2 separate regions of the Homo sapiens genome follow, and region 2 is linked to region 1. The links are contacts of gene promoters, found by promoter capture Hi-C in blood cells and fetal thymus (Javierre and others, 2016). All regions are on one chromosome and are shown on one strand. Each heading gives the region's core, a stretch centred on a gene start or on the middle of the fragment in contact. The rest is flanking DNA. Distances are from core to core; before and after follow the strand shown. Region 1 holds the start of YY1 (YY1 transcription factor). Region 2 has its middle 2.1 kb from the start of TRI-AAT5-4.

Evidence for each region. The method cuts DNA at HindIII sites, captures the fragments that hold promoters and counts their contacts. A CHiCAGO score of 5 or more calls a contact.
Region 2: a fragment that was not itself captured here is called in contact with the fragment with the promoter of YY1 in region 1 in 1 of 17 cell types (total B cells); the score reaches 6.0 in total B cells.

What each region holds. Positions count from the first base shown.
Region 1 is chr14:100,237,169-100,241,154 of GRCh38, reverse strand. YY1 (YY1 transcription factor) reads right to left here and starts at 2,011. Exons shown (of 5, transcript NM_003403.5): 1 at 1,232-2,011. The coding sequence starts at 1,910. It overlaps YY1-DT (YY1 divergent transcript), which reads left to right and starts at 2,534. Exons shown (of 2, transcript NR_189150.1): 1 at 2,534-2,684. RefSeq lists silencers at 410-1,089, 1,360-1,409, 1,900-1,969, 2,120-2,199, 2,260-2,859 and enhancers at 1,100-1,259, 2,097-2,949. The HindIII fragment of the contact is 3,842 bases long and covers 362-3,986 here.
Region 2 is chr14:102,312,977-102,316,962 of GRCh38, reverse strand. No RefSeq gene overlaps it. Among named protein-coding and RNA genes, the nearest start is that of TRI-AAT5-4, 2.1 kb to the left of the region's middle. RefSeq lists enhancers at 82-181, 2,307-2,386, 2,280-2,780. The HindIII fragment of the contact is 3,036 bases long and covers 246-3,281 here.

The sequences.
Region 1 (3,986 bases), core at 762-3,261:
CAATTTAGCTAGGTAGCATATGAATATACTAATAGGATACTGACCTAAAAAACCAGCATTGAATTAATAATTGCCTTTGAAGTAAAAACAGATTTTACACAGGCAGATAAGATCCTTTTGCTCTAGATGGTTTTCAGGCCTTCGTTAAAAGTAGTATTAAAACAGTAAAACAAAACTCAAAAAAACCCGCTTTCTATTATCGTTCTTTTCATGGGGAAAATAGATACCTTTCTACAAAGTAAAAACCATAAAGGCTTAAAATTAAACTACCCGATTTTATTTACTGGCAAATGTCCACAGTTGAGTAAACTAACCCAACCTATTCAGAAGAGCTAAATACTTGAGGGAAAAAAAAAAAGCTTTCCCAAAACGTAAGTGACTAAGAATTATTCGCTAACATTCACAGGCCCTTTCCACTAGGTACCGCAGGAAGGCGAAAAGGCCAGGAATTCGCTGGCAACGGCGGTGACAGGCTCCGACTGACGCTCGGAGCCCGCACACGCGAGCCCTACGTGCAGCCCCAAGTCCCGCCCCGCAGCAAACGACGACTTGGGCGAGCGTGACCGCCGGGGCAGGGTCCAGCCCGGCGCTGGGTGGGCGGGGAGCAAGGAGGCCGGAGGGCGCCCACGAGTGCCAAGCCCCCTCCTTCTGGAAGGTGCCACCGGGGAGCAGTTGGGAGTCCGGGGAAGTTGGGGGCGGGCGGGGCAAGCGCCCGCGGCGCCCTCCAGCGGCCGATGGGGTAACGGCAGCGCCGGGCGGGGGCGGGGGCGCGCGTCCCGGAGGCAGCAATCCCTGGCCCGCGAGGCCGCGGCGCAGCCCCGCCAACGACCTCCCGCGTCCCGCCCGGGCCGGGGGCGCGCAGCTGCCGCCACAACGGGCCGGCGGGCGCGCCCGTTGATGCGGGCGCGGGGAGCGAGGGCGTCGGGGAGCGAGCGCGCCGGCCCCTCCCCCGGCCGTCTCCGCCCCGCGCGGCGCTTCCCCCTCTCGGAGAAACTACGCCATTGCGGCCTAGCCGGGCGGCGCCGGCCCCTCCCCCCCGCGGCCTGCCGCCATCTTCGCGGCCCGCCGCCCGCCGCCGCCGCCGCGCCCCCGCCGCCGCACGGCCCGCCATCTTTTGGGGCCGCCATACTTGCCCTGGCGAAGAAGATGGCGGCGCCCATCACACACATAAAACATGGCTTCCCTTCAAAACAAAAACATCCCGGGGCCGGGGCGCGCGGCCGGCGCTCACCTGAGGACCACATGGTGACCGAGAACTCGCCCTCCAGGGTCTTGATCTGCACCTGCTTCTGCTCCCACTTCTTGTTGCCCGGGTCGGCGCCGCCGCCGCCCGCCGCGCCGGCCCCGCCGCTGAGGTAACTCTTCTTGCCGCTCTTCTTGCCGCCGCCCTTCTTGACGCGGCCGCCTCCCGACGACGACGAGCCGCCGCCGCCGCTCTTGCCGGCCGCCGCCACGGTGACCAGCGTTTGTTCAATGTAGTCGTCGTCGCCGCCGGCCGGCGCGGGCACCGGGATGAGAATCTGATCCTCGAAGCCGTCCTCGGCGCGCAGCCCGTCCGAGTCGTCGCCGCCCACCACCTCCTCGCGCGTCTGCACCAGGATCACCTCCTGGTGGTGGTGCACCTGGGTCGGGTCGTCGGTGACCAGCGGCTGCAGAGCGATCATGGGCGGGTGGTGGTGGTGGTGATGGTGGTGGTGGTGGTGGCCGGCGTGCCCGTGGCCGCCCCCGCCGCCGTGGTCGCCACCGCCGCCGTCCTCGTCGTCGTCGTCCTCCTCCTCCTCCTCGCCCACCACTGTGGTCTCGATGGTCTCCACCGGGATGGTCTCCACCTCGATCTCGTGCAGCTCCACGATCTCGGCCGGCATCTCCGAGCCGTCCGTGGCGATGTAGAGGGTGTCGCCCGAGGCCATGGCTGAGGGCTCCGCCGCCACGGCCGCGGCGGCCTCGGCTCCTCGGCTGCGGGCGGGCGGGCGAGGAGGCGGCCGGCCGTGGGGAAGGAAGGCAGAGGGAGGAAGGCGGCGAGCGGGCGGGGGGAGAGGGGGCGGGCGGCGGGGGAAGGGGCGGGCGCCGCGGCGGCGGCGGGGCTTCCCCGCCTCCCTCGCCTCGGTGCGCCCGCGCCCGCGCTCGCTCGGCCGCTGCTCGTCTCGGCTCCCCGCCTCGCCTCGCCTCGCCGCAACCGCCCGCCCTGGCCGCGCCTCCTCCCGCCCTCCGGGCCGGCGCTCCGCTTCCCCCTTCCTCCTGCGCCTCCGCCTCCTTCCACACAAATACCAACTCCTCAACCCGAGCCCAGATCTCGCCGCCGCCGCCACACTCTGCTCGGGCCCGGCCTCGCGAGACTTCCGCGCTGGCCTCAGCCCGCCCCGCCTCGCTGCCACTCGCCCGTTCGCCCTCTCGATTCTCCTCTCGGCCAATCGATCTGTCCGCTGGCCTCCGCGGCCCCGCCCACTCGCCGGGCTCCTCCCGGATTGGGGCCGATGGGACCGGGGGCGGGGCGGCTCGCACGCGCCCTGGCTGGCCCGCGGCGCGTGACGTCAGCGCGCCGCCGCCGCCGCCACCGCCTCCCGCTTCCCGGTGTCGCGCGGCTGCCGCCCTTCGCGGTGCAACAGCCACAAAACCCGCCGCCTCGGGCCGGGGCCGCACTCGGGAACGGGGCGTCGCCGCTACAGCCGCTGCCTTGGGAGCCGGTGAGCGGTCCGCGCGGCCCCGGGCACCACGGGGGCGGGAGCCTGAGGAGAAGGGAGGGAGGGGCCGGCCGGGAGCGGGGTTGAGGCGGGTGGGCGGCCCGGGGGCCGCGCGGGGAGCGGCTGGCGCGTGCGGGGCGGCCCTGTCGCCCCAATAAAGTCTGCTTTGACGAGAATCGCCTGTGCTTCCTTTTTCGCGTCGGGAGGTGTTTGTTCTTGTCGCCTGGCTTCGGGCGAGCGATGGCCGCGGGGTGAGTGTGGAGGACCGAACGGACAAAATCGGGCGACGCGGGCAGCGTCCGGTATCTCGCCGCGAGCGCCCGGCGGGGTGCGGGGCCGAGCGCGGGGTCGGCGCGAGCTCGGCGGAAGCGCCCGCGGAGCCCCAGGGCCACCGTTGGGAGGATGTCCGTTATTCTTTAGTGACCCGCGGAAACCTGAGACGCAGCCGTTGGGTGCCTGTTTCCCCGTAGATCTTAGAACTACAGGGTCCTGGCGGCTTTCTAAAATTTTCTCCTGAGCTTCCCCTTCTTTGCTCTCCAGTCAGCCATTGTTTCCCTTGCCCACCCTTTCCCCCTATTTGTCACTTTCATAGGTGCTCCTTTTTACGCCCACCAGGTTTTGCATTTGTCTCATTTAAAATTCCAAATTTTTTCAGCCGTGTCCTCCATTGTACCTGCAACAGAGCCTAGATTTTTTTTTGTGGCACGGATTAGCGGCAAGTTAAACCTTCCTGAATGAGTTACATTGCAGCGAAGTGTTTCTGCTCTTATCTGTCCTTTTGGTCGACCTGACAATTTGCCTTAAAGCAAAACAAAGATTTCCTGATTTTTAAGGAAACTATGACAAATTGAAGAGTTGGAAAGGTGTGTCTTTGTTGTACTCGTTTGGCCGATTTAACGCCTCTGTGAATTTGTTCAACTTAAATATTATCAACATTTACTGTTTTGTAATAGTGTTCATGCAGTTGAGGCCCATGATTTTCTGAACTGTACGCAATACATTAATCTTAGGCTCAACTTGTTAAAACAAGTAGACTATACATTCTCATTAAAAGGCAACTTTATAAATCCTAGTCCCTTCTTATTGCTAAATCGCATTGGACTTGACTTTTGAGAATATTAGTGTAAGGAGTGACAAATTAGATCGTTTTCTCTTTGAATCTGAGCTTTGAAACCTGAATAATTCCCCTTGGAGTACTGCACCCACTCAGTTTGGAAAAGTCAAATCTGTTGAATTAAGTCATCTCTGGCTTTATAGCTTATAAACTCTGCATAAATATTTCATGAATGGAAACCAGTTGTGGGA
Region 2 (3,986 bases), core at 514-3,013, 2.1 Mb before region 1:
TCACAGTCATCCCCATTGGCCCGATGCAGAAACTAAGACTTAGGGGACTTCAAGGAGAAGGGAGGCGACTCCCTACAGCGAAGGCGGCTTTTTTTCACAGGAAAAATGCAAATTGCACATGGGAGGCTTAGCTCCGCAGTGAGAAGGTTTTCAAACATGCCAACTCAGTGTTGTTTTTATCTCCGAGAATCCTGCAGCGTGGAAACTTCGTGTAACAGAGGCCTTTAGCATGGTTAAATCAAGCTTGGAAAATACAGAAAACCGGACAAAAGAACCACCGAATTCCCTATCGCCCAATAAACAAGGGCCGCTGGGGTCTTGGCTTCCTTCCTGCTGGTTTTTTTTCCTACAGTACACGTGTATTTATACACACACACACACACACACACACACACGGAATCCAAAGCCTTGTATGAAGCAGTCTTTTTTTTGAGACGGAATCTCCCTCTGTCGCCCAGGCTGGAGTGCAGTGGCGAGATTTCGGCTCAATGAAGCAGTCTATTTTTTATCTTTCTTTTTGCATTTAATATTCTAGAATAAGCATATCCCTAAACAATTGCAAATGTCACTTTAAATGATTTCTCAGTGTTTCATTGAGTGGACAAACCACCATGGCTTTCTCCTTTTTTTTTTTTTTTTTTTTTTAGTGTCTGTAAAAATGTTTTCATTTTGCTCTCTCTCTTGTTAACTGAGCACATAAATAAATCACATGGTACAGGCAGAAGGGTTGAAACAGCCACTGAGTAGGCAACGATGGTACCCACCCCTAAAAGCGTAGGATCTGTATGCAAAAAAAGAGAGAGAGAAAGAAAAGGCTGGGAAGACAAACCACCACCGTGTCCACCACCCAGCCTGCATGTCCCAGAGGCCTACTGTTCTCCTACAGGGCCTGACTATGGTGTGCTGCGTGGCCCTCCCACTCCAGGAGCACCAGCTTTTTTTTTTTTGAGACAGAGTCTCGCTCTGTCACCCAGGCTGGAGTCCAGTGGTGCAATCTCAGCTCACTGCAACCTCTGCTTCCTGGGTTCAAGCGATTCTCCTGCCTCAGCCTCCCAAGTAGCTGGGACTACAGGCACGCGCCTTGTCCGGTTACTTTGTGTGTGTGTGTGTGTGTGTGTGTGTGTGTGTGTGTGTGTGTGTGTATTTTTAGTAGAGATGGGGTTTCACCATGTTGGCCAGGCTGGTCTCGAGCTCCTGACCTCAAGTGATCCGCCTGCCTCGGCCTCCCAGAGTGCTAGGATTACAGGCGTGAGCCACCGCATCGGGCCAGCTTTTTAACATTATACATTCTGCTCTGATTACTCCACTAAACTGCTTGGACTGAGGTATCGTCAGGGTTCTATGTCACAAGCAGCAGAAACCGAGTCTAGCTGATTCGAAAAGATTTTATGTAAAGGATGTTAGGTAGGTCACCCTCCACGAGTAAGGCTAGAGGACCAGGTTTAGAAAAACGGACACTCAGTGAAGACATACTCATTCAGCCCGGCAGTGCCCTGGCCCCCAATCAGCTGTGAGTCAAAGAAACCTAATCCCCATCCTGATGGAGCTCTCCGCATAACAAGGAAGGCGGATATTATAGGGAACGGAGAAGATTAGGTGGTGTGCTGGGAGGCTGGGCAAGCGTCCTGAAGTCTGGAGCACTTTACTGTGTCCAAAGGACAAGGATAGATGAGCAGGCCAAAGGGGTAAAGCCCTCTCACAGAGCACTGGTGGGGGTGCAGGCATCCTGTCCATTTTGCTTACAGCTGAATGAATGCCCAGAACCTAGCACACTCTCTGGCATAGCAATAGGTAAGAGTCACATGGGTTTAAAACAGTCAGATCAAGTCATTTCTCTGCTCACACTCTCTCCTTTTGTTGCAGCCCTAACAGGCCTGCCAAATTTAGCAAATATAGATCAAGATGCCGGGTTAAAATTGAATTGCAAAAGGACAATGAAACTTTTTTTAGTGTAAGTATGTCCCACGCCATATTTGGGACATACTTATACTAAAAGAATACATGTGCTGTATCTGACAACCCTACGCCCAGGGTAACATCCCGTTGAAAGACACCACCGGACCTGCGCCTTTCCCCTCTGCCCTCCTGCACCCCTGCCCGGCTCCCTCCGCGGCAGCCCCTCCGCCTCCTCCCTGGCCCTTGCTCCTGTGCTGGGGCTTTTGCGCTTCTGTTCCTCTTCCTGGACCACTTTTCCTGCAGACAATGTCAAAGCTCCTCCTCCTCGTCGTGGTCGCTGCTTAAATGTCACTTACTCAGCGAGGTTTACCCGATGCCCCCATTTGCAATCGCAACCCGCACCCAGGATCCCTGCGGTTCCCGGCCCGACCCCCCTCCATCGCTTATTCCCGCTGCTAATCGTCGGCCTCCCACCGCTAGAGCGAACTCCAGGAGCAGTGGGCTCTATTTTACCAGCACCTAAACAGTGCTTGGCACACAGCGGGTGGTCAGTCCAGGTCTCCTGAAGGAAGCCGAGTTGATCGACCCTTGTGGGTGCAACCGTGGCATTCCCGGGACTTCAAGCCACGCGTCCCGAGTGGGCAGAGTGGACGGGGCGCGCCGGGGCCGGGGCGCCGTGACTGACGTCAGCCGCTAGAGGGCACCTGGGACCTGCGCCATCAGCTCCGAACCCAGGCTTAGGGCGACCCACGTGCAGCTGCAGGGCGGGCGCGGGCGAGCAGTTTTCTTTCCTCCTCTGGACCTCTTCCTCCACTTCTCACCCCGTCTTAGAGCTCTTAGACAAACAAACGCTAATTTTCATTCTCTGAGTGACGAAAACACGAATCTACATACTTTCAGAATTAAGTGGTAGAGAATACCATTCGGGCTTGTTTTCTTGCTTTTGTTTTTGTTTTTGAGACGGAGTCTCGCTCTTGTCGCCCAGACTGGAGCGCAGTGGCGCGATTTCGGCTCACTGCAACCTCCGCCTTGTATTTGTTTTTTGTTTTTTTAATGTGGGGCGGGGGGCCCATGTGCATTTTAAATAATCCATTTTCTTTAAACTCAACTTACGAAATGTTTCATTCTGTTTATAAGTTGGAACCTTTGGTCTGACAGTAACGACCCGCTGTGTTAGTTTCCCAGGTCGGCCACAGCAGAGTATTATAAGGTAGGTGGCCACACAACAGAATATATGGCCTCACAGTTCTAGTAGGCAGACGTCCAAAGTCAGGGTGTCGGGAAGGTCGCTTCCTTCGGAGGCTCCCACGGAGACCGCCCCAGGCTGTCTCCTGGCTTCTGGTGGATTTCGGGCCAACTTTGGCCTTCCTTCGCTTGTAGAAGCTTCACTCTGATCTCTGCCTGCATCTTCACATACTGTTCTCCCTGTGTGTCCCTATGTCCAAATCGCCCCTTTTGTGTAGACGCCAGTCATAATGGACTAAAGTCACTCTGAAGACCTTTTTTTTTTTTTTTTTTTTTTTTTTTAAGACGGAGTTTCCCTCTTGTTGCCCAGGCTGGAGCGCAATGGCGCGATCTTGGCTCGGCTCACTGCAACCTCCGCCTCCCGGGTTCAAGTGATTCTCCTGCCTCAGCCTCCTGAGTAGCTGGGATTACAGGCATTCACCACCACGCCCGGCTAATTTTGTCTTTTTAGTAGAGATGGGGTTTCACCATGTTGGCCAGCCTGGTCTTGAAGTCGTGACCTCAAGTGATCCACCTGCCTTGGCCTGGAAGCACGTACATTATTGCGAAGTTTTGACAAAGTCTCAAAAGTCTTTTTTATTTTGTTTTTGAGATGGAGTTTCGCTCTTGCCACCCAGGCAGGAGTGCAATGGCGTGATCTTGGCTCACTGCAACCTCTGCCTCCTAGGTTCAAGCAATTCTCCTGCCTCAGCCTCCCAAGTAACTGGGATTACAAGCGCCCACCACCAAGCCCAGCTAATTTTTGTATTTTTAGTAGAGACGGGGTTTCACCACGTTGGCAAGACTGATCTTGAACTCCTGACCTCAGGTGATTTGCTCGCCTCAGCCTCCCAAAGTGCCGGGAT